3 separate regions of the Homo sapiens genome follow, and all the other regions are linked to region 1. Evidence: promoter capture Hi-C in 16 types of primary human blood cells and fetal thymus (Javierre and others, 2016). All regions are on one chromosome and are shown on one strand. The core of a region is centred on a gene start or on the middle of the fragment in contact, and the rest is flanking DNA. Distances in the headings are between cores, read along the strand shown. Region 1 holds the start of LCE2C (late cornified envelope 2C). Region 2 holds the start of LCE5A (late cornified envelope 5A). Region 3 holds the start of LCE6A (late cornified envelope 6A).

Evidence for each region. Contacts are between HindIII fragments. The CHiCAGO score rates a contact against its expected background, and 5 or more counts as called.
Region 2: a contact is called between the fragment with the promoter of LCE5A here and the fragment with the promoter of LCE2C in region 1, in 12 of 17 cell types (total B cells, fetal thymus, total CD4 T cells and 9 more). The highest score is 15.7, in total B cells.
Region 3: a contact is called between the fragment with the promoter of LCE6A here and the fragment with the promoter of LCE2C in region 1, in 9 of 17 cell types (non-activated CD4 T cells, endothelial precursors, activated CD4 T cells and 6 more). The highest score is 10.3, in non-activated CD4 T cells.

What each region holds. Positions count from the first base shown.
Region 1 is chr1:152,673,203-152,677,432 of GRCh38, reverse strand. LCE2C (late cornified envelope 2C) reads right to left here and starts at 2,154. Exons shown (of 2, transcript NM_178429.5): 1 at 2,105-2,154; 2 at 864-1,438. The coding sequence starts at 1,417. The coding sequence ends at 1,085. The HindIII fragment of the contact is 8,836 bases long and covers 1-4,015 here.
Region 2 is chr1:152,509,429-152,513,443 of GRCh38, reverse strand. It overlaps LCE5A (late cornified envelope 5A), which reads right to left and starts at 2,641. Exons shown (of 2, transcript NM_178438.5): 1 at 2,446-2,641; 2 at 1,267-1,930. The coding sequence starts at 1,909. The coding sequence ends at 1,553. The HindIII fragment of the contact is 1,377 bases long and covers 1,283-2,659 here.
Region 3 is chr1:152,839,994-152,844,569 of GRCh38, reverse strand. LCE6A (late cornified envelope 6A) reads right to left here and starts at 1,714. Exons shown (of 2, transcript NM_001128600.2): 1 at 1,559-1,714; 2 at 587-1,070. The coding sequence starts at 1,049. The coding sequence ends at 807. The HindIII fragment of the contact is 3,660 bases long and covers 299-3,958 here.

The DNA.
Region 1 (4,230 bases), core at 905-3,404:
TCTTTGCTGAATCCATTATCTTCATGTCGACACCTGTCAGCCTGAACCTAAGAAGCACTAGCCCTTGTTTCCCCTGCTGTGTCCCTGCTTCCCTCCCCTTCCTCTAGTAATACTTAAGATGCCCCACCCATCCTGGCGCTTCTCCCCCCTCACATTCTGAGGGTGGCTTGGCAAAAAAGATAAGTATTGAAGGAGGAAAGGTCTATTCTTTCATACAGCGTTTTGTATTCTTTGTATTCTTATGTTCCTTATATTCTTTGTATCTTCTAAGCAACACTTCCATGTTTTTTCACTTAATATCTCCATCACTCATCACTCCCCTGCCCAGCACGTGAGCCAAGTGGCAGGACAGCATCCTGGGACTCAGATCTAACACTGTGAGGAACTGAAGCCAGGTGTCCAAGGCAGCAAGTCAAAAGGCTGATCTTAACCAGACTCATGAAAAGAAGCTGAGTGACCATGGGCTGTACTTTACAGGAGGAAGGGTCTCAACATCTGTTTCAAGCATTTTATCCAACTATTGATTCTAAGGGCAGGAAAGTTTTGCTTCATAGGGATGTGTTCTTCTCCCTAGAGAAGAACAAGTCTGCAGAGCTTCCCAACCTTCCCAACGTCTGGATTACACAGAAAATTAGAACATGTGTCTGGCTTAGTGGAGAGAAAGGCAAAGCTACCATAGCCAGAGGTGACCCTCTTGGAGCTCCATTCACTCAGCATCTGGGGGAATCAGTTCCTCAGAGCAGCTTTTCATGTATCACCTACTCATGTCCTGTCCTAGCCTCATGAAGAAAATTACTCTGAGGCCCTGACCTTTGGAGGACATTTGAAATCTCAGAAGAGAAGAGAATGACCAAGACATTTAGTGAGTCAGAGATCAGAGCTTTATTATAACATGAGGTAAAGGAGGAAAAGAAGACTTGCAATTGGGGTGTTACATCAAGCACGAAGTTCTTCCAGGAAAGCCCCATGAGTCTTTGTGGTCTCTGCCAACCAATGAATGGAATGAGAGGAAGTGGAAAGAGTATCCATCAGGCCGTAGCAGGTTCTTGGCCATTCAGTCCCAAGAGCTCTTCTGTAGCCCAGGTCAGCAGCAGCCCCCAGAGCTGTGGCAGCAGCCAGAGCCCCCAGAAGGTTCACTCTCACAGCAGTCGGGGCTCTGGTGCCGGCGCCGGTGGAAGAGACGGGGCCTGTGGTGGCTCAGGGAGCAGCCACCAGCCCCAGAGCTGCAGCAGCCCCCAGAGCTGGGACCACAGCAGCTCCCAGAGCTGGGACCACAGCAAGAAGAGACTGCAGGGAAACATGGAGCTGGGCACTGTGGTGGGCATTTGGGGGGACACTTAGGTGGACATTTTGGGGTACACTTGGGAGGACACTTGGGAGGGGGCTGGCACTGCTGCTGGTTTTGCTGGCAAGACATGCTGGCAGGAGTTTAGTCAACCTGAAAGATAATAATGAAACTCTTTAAATATTTCAAACCAAGGATCATATTATACCTCTTCTAAAATCAATGCATGTGTAGAAGAAGAATGATATTTAGATAATACAATCACATCAGTAACCTGAAAGAAACAACTTGAATCTTTCCTCTAGATAAAAGTACGTAGATAAAAAATCAACAGAATGAGCTTCTTACTCTTCCTTTCAGGGGAAACTGCGATTGCTCTATCCTCACAAGCCCGAATAGAGTATTCACAGCTCCCTGAAGTACCTATTCCTTTAATACAAGCCCTAAGGACAAGCTGGGTGTTGCAGGACATACCAAGGGGTCCTCTGGAAAATATTTTGCAATGAAACCTCCAGATAAAAGAGCCTGGCTTGAAGTATTTGCCAGTTTCCATGGTGTAAATATGCCCAACACAGCAGTTTTGAAGTTACCAACATGAAGTCACTGAACACAGAATTGGAAAAGATGTGCACAGTTAGCTTTCCCCACCTATATGAGCTCCGGTAGGCCTCAGAGCCTCAACAGATTCGAGGCAGGCTGAGTCCCATTCCTGCTCAGTATGGCAGAACACAAGCACACAACTCTTTCTCCAGCCTACCTCCATCCTCCCCATCCCTCTGCCTTGCTCATACCCCTCTGGTATCCCAGGTTGCCACTCACCCTGGTCACACGCAGGAGCACAGACACGTCCCTGGGGAGTCAGAGCAGATGAGATGCTGAAGCTGGATGTGTCTTTTATAGGGCCCAGGCTTGGCTCTGGAAAGAGCAGGAGGTGGCTCTTGCACAACCAGGCACACGCTGGGTCATTCCTGACATTCTCCTGCCTCTTAGTCCCTGCAATCCAAAGAGGCCTCAGGAGCTTCCAGGACTCCTCTCTGGGGCTGCAGTCTAGAGAGGCTGTAGCCAGTCAGAGCCTCCACCAGGTGGGAACCCTAAAGAGTTAACTTAGGGTACCCAAGGGACCCACACCTGGACAAGATTCTGTTCCCTGCATTTTTTTAATGCATGTCCTCTGAGGAAACATCAGTTCTGAGCCACAGCTTTCCCTGACCTTGTGGAAATGTTCCATTATGACTCCCTCCACCCTGAGCAGTTTCTCTTCCATGTCCTGCTGTGGATCCAGCCATCCCAGAGGGCTTCTACAGCCTTGGCTTTTTCTAGGCATCCCTCCCTTGCCTAGGCTCTCAGCCCTTCCTCCTGGCCTCTGTGTTTCTGCTTTTCCTCCGACTCACCATGGCAAGCAGATTCGGTGGATTAAATCTGAGTTGATTCTGTCACCTAAAGCAAGGAGAATGATTGAGAATAAACAATTCCCTCTAAAATCTAAACATTTCCTTCAGTCAGAGGACTTGTATTGAATGTGCTACTGGAATCAGAAAACTTGCATATGATAACTGGGTAATCTCTGAAAGTTGCTGTAACAATTATCAATAATTGCTAGAGTATTACTATGATACTCACTGTGAGTATCAGTTCTCACATATAATGCCCATTATAAACCTATCAGTGAGATATACCTATCTCACTGAGCTGTTTGTAATATAAAGTGAGAAGCAAGAAAGAGCTAAGTATGACATTTTGTGCCTGATAGACCCTTAATAAATATATGTTTAATAGAAAAACTAATGCCATGTATTGGATACTTGCCCCGGTCTTATGTGTCATTAATTGCCCATATAGAGCCCTTACCCTCAGAGAGCTTAACTCCACCAGACACTTAGATTATTTGAAACCTGTCTTGGGAAGTAGACATCATTTCTTGGGGCTCCTATGCAGAGGGAACTCCTTTCCTACCAGGAAGTAGAGGGTCAGCCAGGAATCTAGTTATTCAGAGTTCTGATTCAGGGTTGCACTAGACAGAGTTACCCAGTCATTTATTCATTTAGTTTAAACAGATACATTGAGTGTGAACCTTGAAAACATTACACTACGTGAAAGAAGCCAGTCACAAAAGACTGCATATTGTATGATGTTATTTATATGAAATGTGTAGAGTAGGCAAATCTCTGGAAATAGAAAGGGGATGAGGCTTTAGCCAGTTACAGCCTCTCCCAGGCTGGACCCCTGAAGAGCTGACTCAGGGCATCCGAGGAACAAGAGCCTGGATGAGATTCTGTTCCCTGTATCTCCTTTTATGTTTATGCCTGTCCTCTGAGAAATATCAGTGGCTTCCAGGTGCTTTAGCGGGCTGGGAGATATTGAGAAGTTACTGCCAATGGATACAGGTTTTCTTTGTGAAGTAATGAAAATGTTCTAAAATTATGGTGGTGATTGTCCAACTCTGTGAATATACTGAAAACCATTGAATTTACACTTTAAACAAATGAACTACAAATATGTTAATTACATCTCAATAAAGGTGTTAAAAATTAGAATTGAAAAAAATAGATATTCACACCTCTGATTAAAACAGAAACAGACTGTGCCTTCACATTGCCTAATGCCTACTTAGTGGGGGAGGGGAGGATGCGGAGAAAGCATAGTTTCCCATTGTCAGCTTCTAACTGAGGGATTCTGTTCTCCTAGTTATGCAATCCTATTATCAGATCTGATTCCTGCTCTCAGGAAGCTTTTACCTGAAGGATAAAGTAAGTCAACAGTGTGGTCAGAGCAGTGAATTCAAAAGGCATTCTTTGAAAGCCTACAACGTTCTTGAATCATGTATGTCCAAATATAGGGATATAGAGGTGAATAATAAGTAGCCCATGACCTCAAGGACTGTAGAATTTTTGTAGCCTTTTTGAAGATGACTGCAGACAAACATAGGTCCAAAGAAGATGACGTTT
Region 2 (4,015 bases), core at 1,392-3,891, 160 kb after region 1:
TCCAAGACTAAGAATTCAGGAATTAAGGATGAGAGACAGGTTTGGGGGCGAGTGAGCTGGGAGTGGCTCAAGGGACTAGGCGAGGAAAGATAAGTCACAAAAGATACCAGTTTCATTTAACATGGATTTAGAGCCTGATTAACAGGTTGCCAGTTCCTAGAGCACCTGTTGGTGAGTATAGGTGAGACATTCCAAAAAGTAAAGTCAATATTAGAACAGAGAAGGAAGTAATGAAATAACAAGACAGAGGCAGGATCTCCTCTGGGAAAATGGGCAAAGTTCTTTTAAAAAAAAAAAAAAAGAATGAAGAACGTTTGGTAGGAATCAGTATAAGGAGATAATCTGGGCAAGTGCCTACTCATTCTGTGGGCATCCTATGATCTCATAAACCAGCTTACTTTATTTATCGCTATTAACTCTTATCAAAGGAGGCATCAATTGTTTATCTTTTATATTAAAGGCTGATTTGGAATTAACTTTTCTAGTTATCTTTTCTAGGTACATTATGAGTGTCTCCTGAAGGAACCAGCCCATTCCTAAAGAAATGTTGCTTGGAAAACCCAACACAGGGACCAAAACCCCTGTACTCTTATACCTCTCACTGCACACACACACACACACACACACACACACACACACACGTACGTCCCAACCACATAGAGACAGTCTTTGCAAAGAAGGGTGTCTTTCTCAGTTCTTTACCCAGATTCAAATCCAGGATTTCAGCATGCAGGGAAAATGTGCTCAGACGTTTCATATCTGCCTCCAAAACTCACTCACTGCCCACCCAGCTCTCCCTCTAGCCAACTGATGGAAACACCTGAGCTTATAATAATCAGAAAAGTAAAGAGTGTCCATTTATTAGAGCCCAGGATGAGCACTTCAGGCAATCTTATTCCCCATGAATGGGGACAAGCAATTTTTCAAACTGTGACCCATGCTTGAAGGAAACCCTCTCAGAACCTGAACCTTTTGAGTACAACCATCCTCTTCTCTTCAAACCCATTCCTGGCTCTCCTCATACAATCTTGTGTCTGGCGTAATGGTCTCAGACATTATTCTTTCCTTCAAGCTTAAAGTTCCAGAATCCAGTGCATAGAAGGAAATATTGTTTTCCAGAGGCCTAAGTAGCTTCACTGCCAAAATGTGCTTCCTAAACAAGTTTGTAAAGTGTTCGCTTGCATTTAAGAGAAGGGAAGGGAAGATGGCTTGATGCAGCAGGTAGGGAGTGGGAGAGGCAAACAATGAAATCAGGAGGCAGTGATATCAGGAATAAAAAGCTTTATTGTTACAGAGAAAATAGCTTCATAACTGAATTACAACACCTAGTTCTCCAAAGAGCTATGTCTGAGAGGGAAAGCCAGGCCAGAAAATATCACAAGCTAGACTTCAACCCTACAATGGAGTGAACATGGGCAGGATAAAGAGGGGAACTTAAGGCATTTCCGAAGTCCTTCCATGGGAAATGAGAGAAAAGAAGCCTCAGGCTGACACACATCTTCAGCACCTGGGATCTGCCAGTCCTTCTCCTCCGTGCTCCTCATGGCCCAGGTCAGCAGCAGCCTCCAGAGCTGTGGCAGCAGCCAGAGCCCCCAGAGCTGTGGCAGCAGCTGGAGCCCCCAGACTGCTGGCCACTGCCACTGCCACAGCAGCTGGAACTCTGAGGTCGGCGTCGGAGGGACTGGCGGGGCCTGTGGTGGCTCAGGCAGCAGCCACCACCCTCAGAGCTGCAGCAGCCCCCAGAGCTGGAACCACAGCAGGAAGAGACTGGAGGTGGGCATGGGGCTGAACACTGGGGAGGGCATTTTGGGGGACACTTGGGAGGACACTTAGGAGTACACTTGGGAGGGCATTTAGGGGTACATTTGGGAGGAGGCTGGCACTGCTGCTGGCTCTGCTGGCAGGACATCTCTGTAGAAGCTGAATAAAGCTGAAAGACAATACAAGCCCAAGGTCACTTCCTTGCCCTTAAAATTGAACTATAATTTCACAAGATTTTATCTCTAAGATGACCAGAATTTATTATTATGATTATTATTATTATTTGGGATGGAGTCTCACTCTGTCACTCAGGCTGGAGTGCAGTGGTGCTATCTCGGCTCACTGCAACCTCCACCTCCCGGATTCAAGTGATTCTCCTGCCTCAGACAGGTGTGCACCACCACACCCAGCTAATTTTTGTGTTTTTAGTAGAGACGGGATTTCAGCATGTTGGTCAGTCTCGAACTCCTGACCTCTTGACCCGCCCACCTCAGCCTCCCAAAGTGCTGGGATTACAGGCATGAGCCACTACTCCTGGCCTAAGATGAACCAGATTTTAAAAACCCAGTCTCCCAAGACCAGTAACAAGAATGATACAAATGATTTCCACCTAGTAACTCCATATTTTCAAATGAATAACTTGGAACTTCAGAAAGGCATCAGTCCTTCATTCCTTTTACCTACCTTCCACCCTCCCCTTCCAGAAGAACCTTCCCCTCCAAAATCCTTCTTTATCCTTGTCTTTCTTCAAGAATGGCCTCAACCTCCACCCAGGGGCTCTTTCTGCCCAAAACACCAGCACCAAGAGTTCATCCTGGTCCTGAGAAGCACTCTACCTGGTTCAGGCACTGCAGCAGATCACTCAGGAGACAGGTAGACTGAGGTGCTGTCAGAAGCTTCTGCCTTTTATACAATTCAGTCCTGACCTAGCATCAGGAGGTGCAGACCATGTGCGGGACGCTAGAAGCATCTTTCATAAAGGCATGGGTGACTCCCTCCCCTCGCATCCCAGGGACCCAGTTCCTCCCTGCATAAGCATCTCAAGTATTAACCCACAGGAAGATCCCCTGAGAACTGCAGGCCTCTAGGATGGTGAGGGAGCTCTGTGAATTGCACATGGCACCTATCTATCTCACAGGCAGCTCTGCTATGCCTTCTATTTTCTGAGCTGGGCCAATACGGCTCTACACCTCTGGAATGAACAGAAGTTCTGTTTTCTCTTTGGTATAGGAACTGAAGGAGAAAATTCCCAAGATGGAAATTAAATGGCCCTTTTTAGAATAATAATAGAGATCCAAAATAAAATTGTAGGCCCAAGCAAATAATCTAACATGATTTTTTTTTCATTTCTAGATGATGCCATAACCAGAACAAGGAAGGTTTGATATCTCAGTGATGTTATTTTAGGCAGATCTAATGCTGACAGTGTGGGTGGTTGGGCTTCTCTCCTTGCCTGAATTTGATGCTCCAAAACTGCTCACAAACAGTACCGATTCAGCACTAACAATGCCTTTAAAAGGGCAGAAGTCTAGGAATGGCTTATTTACTCGTGTTAAAGAAGGTGCCCTTGGCCAGCTCGAGGTGAGGCAGCAAAGACCAGGTGTATACTGAGGGTGGAGCAAAAGCTCTCCACTCATCTGGAGGTTTCCAGAAGTGAGGCACCAGTTCTGGTCATTCATAAGAGAAGAGCATCCAACCTGGGAAGGACCTCAGGAGAAGATTAATCTTTGGATGGAGAGGTGAAGAGGAGGAGTATATAGGTTTTAAAAGCCCATGGTGGGATCCAAAACATTTTCTCAGCAAACAATATTCTGAGGGAAAGTTGGGTCCCCAGGATAGTTATCAAAATTGACTTAGCTGGAAAGGGTGGCCAAAATATGGCATATTCACAATGAAAGCTGCAGTGAGAGAAAATAAGACTGGGAGAAAAAGGCAGTACCTTAGCTCCATGCTCTTTGAAATGGGCTGCAGTGAGAAGCATCAGCCCAGTTATAACACAGACCCTGGAGAGGGACATCCAGCATCAGTTCCCACCCTTGCTCTCTCCACCTGTGCAACCTCTGGCAAGTTACTTAACCATCACTGGAAAAGGGGGCTGAAAACATTCCTAATCCACTGAATAAAGAAATACAGATGAAGTTCTTAGCACAGTTCCTAGAACTGCAAGTTTAAAAAAGAAAAAACTAATCACTATGGCTATCCTTATTTCCATGAGAAAATATATGCTAAATTTCAAATTACTGACCTGCCAATT
Region 3 (4,576 bases), core at 465-2,964, 170 kb before region 1:
ACCTCCTAGCACCAAAGTCTGCTATCTTTAGAGGTCTGGGAGCCTCTTCTCCCCACTCCCAAGTGGGATACTCTCTTTCCTTCCAAGGCCTAGGAAACCACATTTGATCCACACCATCAGAATGGTTCTCCTCTCTCTGCTGTCTTTGACCTAAGGTACTTTTTAAATTTCTGCTTTAAGTTCTTTTGAACACAAATGAGAGATAAAAATGAGTAAATTAATCAGCTTAAAATGATATTTACTAATCCACTTGTTTCTATCTGAAGTGTCCATTGCATCTCCTACTGGATTATAAGCTTTCTAGAGCAGGGACAAATTTCCCACTTACATCTGTAAACACAGAGGCCAGTACACAGTAGGTGCTCAACATATGTTTATTGTAGTCTTTGGTGCTAGAATCATGCAATGACATGGGTTGATGGCTGTGAGGCTGCTGGAAACTGGGACATAAATCCCAGAACATCTGCTTCTTAAAAATACTATCAGCTGTCTTAAGAGGAAGGAGGAGAAGCACCATGCACTTGGGTTGAAGCGGGGGTCTCAGTACATCTGAGCAGGGGTCTCAAGAACTCACAGAAGTCAGGGCTCCAAGTAAAGCAGCTTTATTGTTGCTGAGCTGAAGGGGTGAATGGAAGAGAGCAGTAGCAGCGTGGCTCAGCCTAGTTCTCGCTTCTCTAGAGCTGGGGATCAGGAAGTGTTTCTCAGTCCAAATGAGAGGTTGAGGGCCTGGCTTTCCAAGGGGGAATTAGTACCCAAAGGTGGGGCAGGGAGAGAGTAACTGCACCTGTGCCTCAACTCTTCTGGGCTCAGTCGCCTTCACACTCTTCCTCTTTGCAGTGGTAGGTTGTGCCCCTACTTAGGCAGCGCAGCTTTTGACGAGCCCTCCTAGGCTTCTGAACCTCAGGCCTTTGGGAACTGGAATGACAACCTTCTGAATGGGGAGCACCACAAGGAGTCGAGTAGGGAGCTAGGCAGGGGTTTGATCTTTGGGGAGGGGAGCATTTGGGAACATTTGGAGGCTTCCAAGATTGCTGCTTCTGCTGTGACATTGCTTGGCTACCAGGTCGAATCTGGAAGAAAAATAGTTATATCAGGGACCCAGGCAGCTTGGGCTTCTGTTTCTCTCCTCCACAAACTGGAGCTGTCAAAAATGAAGTCCAGCATTTACAACCCACTGAACTCCATCTCAGGAGGAGAAAAACGGACTTGAAAGGACTAAATATTTGGGAGTAAATCTTCCCAGGGGACTCACTTACTAATAACCATGTTAATGATATATGCTTCCTTAAAAAAAAAAAAAGACAAATTGTACTTAGTTGAGCTGACAGTTTACTTTTCCCAGCCCAATGTCCACCTGGTTAAGTGCAAAGGAGAGCCAAGTCTCTGCTCTTTCTTTACTCTGTCTTATTCTGTCCCCAGACTCCTAAGTCTGACTGTCCCATCTCTGCTTTTCTGGCCCTCTAACTTCTATGGCTTTCTCCCATGTTAGATTATTTGGGGTCTTTCTTTTGCAGGGATCCACTTCTCTTCCCTTCTTTCTACCCCAAGCATCTCCTACCTGGCTTTTCAGCTCCCTGGGAAGAGACGAGAGGAGAGATCAGGACTGCCTAAGCAGCACTTGAGCTACATCCAAGTGTCTCCTCAGCCAGAAGTAGCCTTACCCTAGTGGAAGATGTGTGGACAAGTTATCCCAGGAGGAGTCTGGAGGCCTTGTGTTGCCAGGAAGTAAGAGGCTCTTTTATATATCCTCCAGTTGAAGCCTCCAGGCCACATGTCATTGGAGGAGAGCCATGGAGTGGATGATTGATCTGGGTATTTCACAATTCCCAGTGCTAGATTCCTCAGCTACATGTAGCTGGGATGTGGTTCAAAGGCATCTGCAGGTGCGTGAGTGAGCAGAAGGCTGGGGCCTTCAGATTGGCCTACGCAGAAGTGGGTACACTGGCTAATCTGGATGATGTCCTTGGGAGGCTGGGCGGGTTGCAGCTGCTGTTGAATTCTATGTAGGATTGGAGGGAAAAATCAGGTTCGACATCACCCAGGGTCTGAGGAAGACCTTCCTTGTCTACTCCCCACCCATCATCCATGACTGTCAGCATCCCATTCCGTGTCATCACCTCTGTGGAGATTGGCCCATTGCTCTAGCCACACATGAGTCCTTCATCCTCTGACCTTTATAGATACATGTCACAGCCTTTACTATTGCTTTGGGTCGTGTGACCAAGATACATATCCTATCTCACCTATTAAACTGTTATTTGATGACAGTGCCTTTATCACTTCTGCATTCCTAGAGCCTGATGTTGTTCCTGACACAAAGAAAATACTCATTAGTATTTGTTGAATGAAACAGTCTATGTGCCATTAGAAAAGACTTTGTGTTTCAGGAGAAAAAAACAGGAATAAAATAAAGCCCAACTCATTTTGTTTTGTGGACGAGACCTTGACTTCTTGTTTCCATCATTCTCCCCTAAGGCATTTGTGAACACCCTTTCATAAATACTACAGGGAACTCTGTGGGTGGACCTCACCTTACACAATAGGCTGAGCAGAGGGTGGGAAGCAAAACCTTCACACACCTGCTGTCTCTTAAATGCAAAAGGGGAGCTGTTCTTGGAATTATCAAGGGACATTGTGGAAAAGCCTTCCACAGAGTGAAAAGTTCTTCTTTAGCTTTCATGAAAATTGAGATAATCATGTTTTGGCAGTGCTTAAATTGGGAACATTCTCTAAACACAGTCCCTCACCTCTGGATGCTTCCATCTCAGAATCGCTCCTGGTGTGCCCAGCTAAGTTAAAAGGCACTGATGAAACTCCCTGCTGCTCAAGAGTGTGCCTCACCTGCCTCTGTATTTCTGATGCCTGACACACAGTAGGTATTCAGGAAACAGTTGGGTAAATAAAAAGATGAGCAATTACAAGGAACATTCTGACTGTAGGGGCAGTCCTCAAAGGCCTTCAAATCATGTATAGGACAAAGGTGAGTAGGGTTGGGGTATGGGAGAGGGTATGAAGACCAGGGTGGAAAATAGGACAAGGCCAGAAAAGGAGCAGCTATTGGATCCCAAAATCCAGCAGGGCAGGATCATCAGGTTTCAATTGCTTCATCTGGGAAAACTTTGAGATGCAGTTTGGATGGAGGAAGAGAAGATCTTTGTGAGTGAAACAGCAGGTGGAAGAATGGTATGAAACCTCGCTCACTCTGTTAGAGCAGAGCCCTGGAGAGAGAGTGCCTGATTTAGACAGCCTCAGGGATAGACCCCATCTTCCTTTACTTCCTTTTCCCTTTTCTCTCTCCTTCTCTTTCTCCTCTTTTCTTCCCTCAGACACCAGAAATAACTCTGATGGTGCCTCAGAAGTGCTTCCCTTGCACTAAGCATTAGCAGGAAGGCAAAGTAACACTGGTCTCAATGCACCAGTTGCTCCTTTTCCCCACCCAAGACCTGCACCACTTAAACACATGCTTCAGAGACCTCACACATCACAAATGCATTTTTTTGAAGTTAACTAGCAAGTACCCAACCCTTACTGTCTCTGCCTAGGGCTGAGGGTTCTTTCTGGAGGCTCTGCCCTAGGCAAACTACACTTCCTGCCCCTTCTATATCTCTCCCAGACCACCTCCCATAATAAATTGCCCACAGAAATCTCTTAGCCCCCTCCTTTTCAGTACAGTGAATTTCATCACATATAGGATGGAGTGTGTCCAGCATCTAGATTTGCCTAGCTCATTAAGTGAGCCTGTTTGAGGCCCCTGAGCTGCACTGTCTTCCAGATAAACTTAAAAGTCCAGCCAGTTTTAAATCAGGACCACAGAAATGTAATGTTCTTATTCTAATCCCACTCCACTTCTCTTCCTGGTTCAGATTGTGTCTATAATTATGTGATTTGATATTTATTAAGTCCCAACTATGTACTGGATACAAGAAAGAATAAGATGTCTATATTATGTTTCAAAGCTTTCACTCTCCAGAGGGAATACAGACAAATTAATAGGTAACACAAGCTTGTAAGTGAAAAATCGGCAAATAGGCAAACTGTAGTTGTAGCTTGAGAATACAACTAGTCCTCTTAAATGTACCAAATTAGAAAGGTAGTGTCTCAAGTATGTAGCTCCCACCATTATCAGAGTCCCCACCTGGTCTGAAGACAGGAGCCCATCTCTGAGAATAATCCCATCTCATTCCTGGTCTCTATTCAGGAGACTGTTTCTCTGAGCAAGAGATATCTCTAGGTCCCCAGCCTCAAATGAAGTTGCTTGGCTTCCCATGACTGGGTTTCTCTTTGGTCAATTTCTTTCTGATATCTCAAATCATTTAACTATTCCTGAAGTAACTCCTCAAATATATTTTTAAAATCTCTTTTATTTTGCTTTATGTTTTTAATGAATAATTGCCCTGACTGTTAAGTGTTCATTCAGAACACTCTGATGTCTTCCGGATAAATCTAAATTCCTTTAGCCAGCATTCAAGTCCCTGTGTATACTCGAACCTATCCCATCGCTTTATGCTTAACTTCTGGAACTTCCTTTCATTATGTCTCCTCCTCTGCTGAATGGATGGATTTATTGTATGGTGAA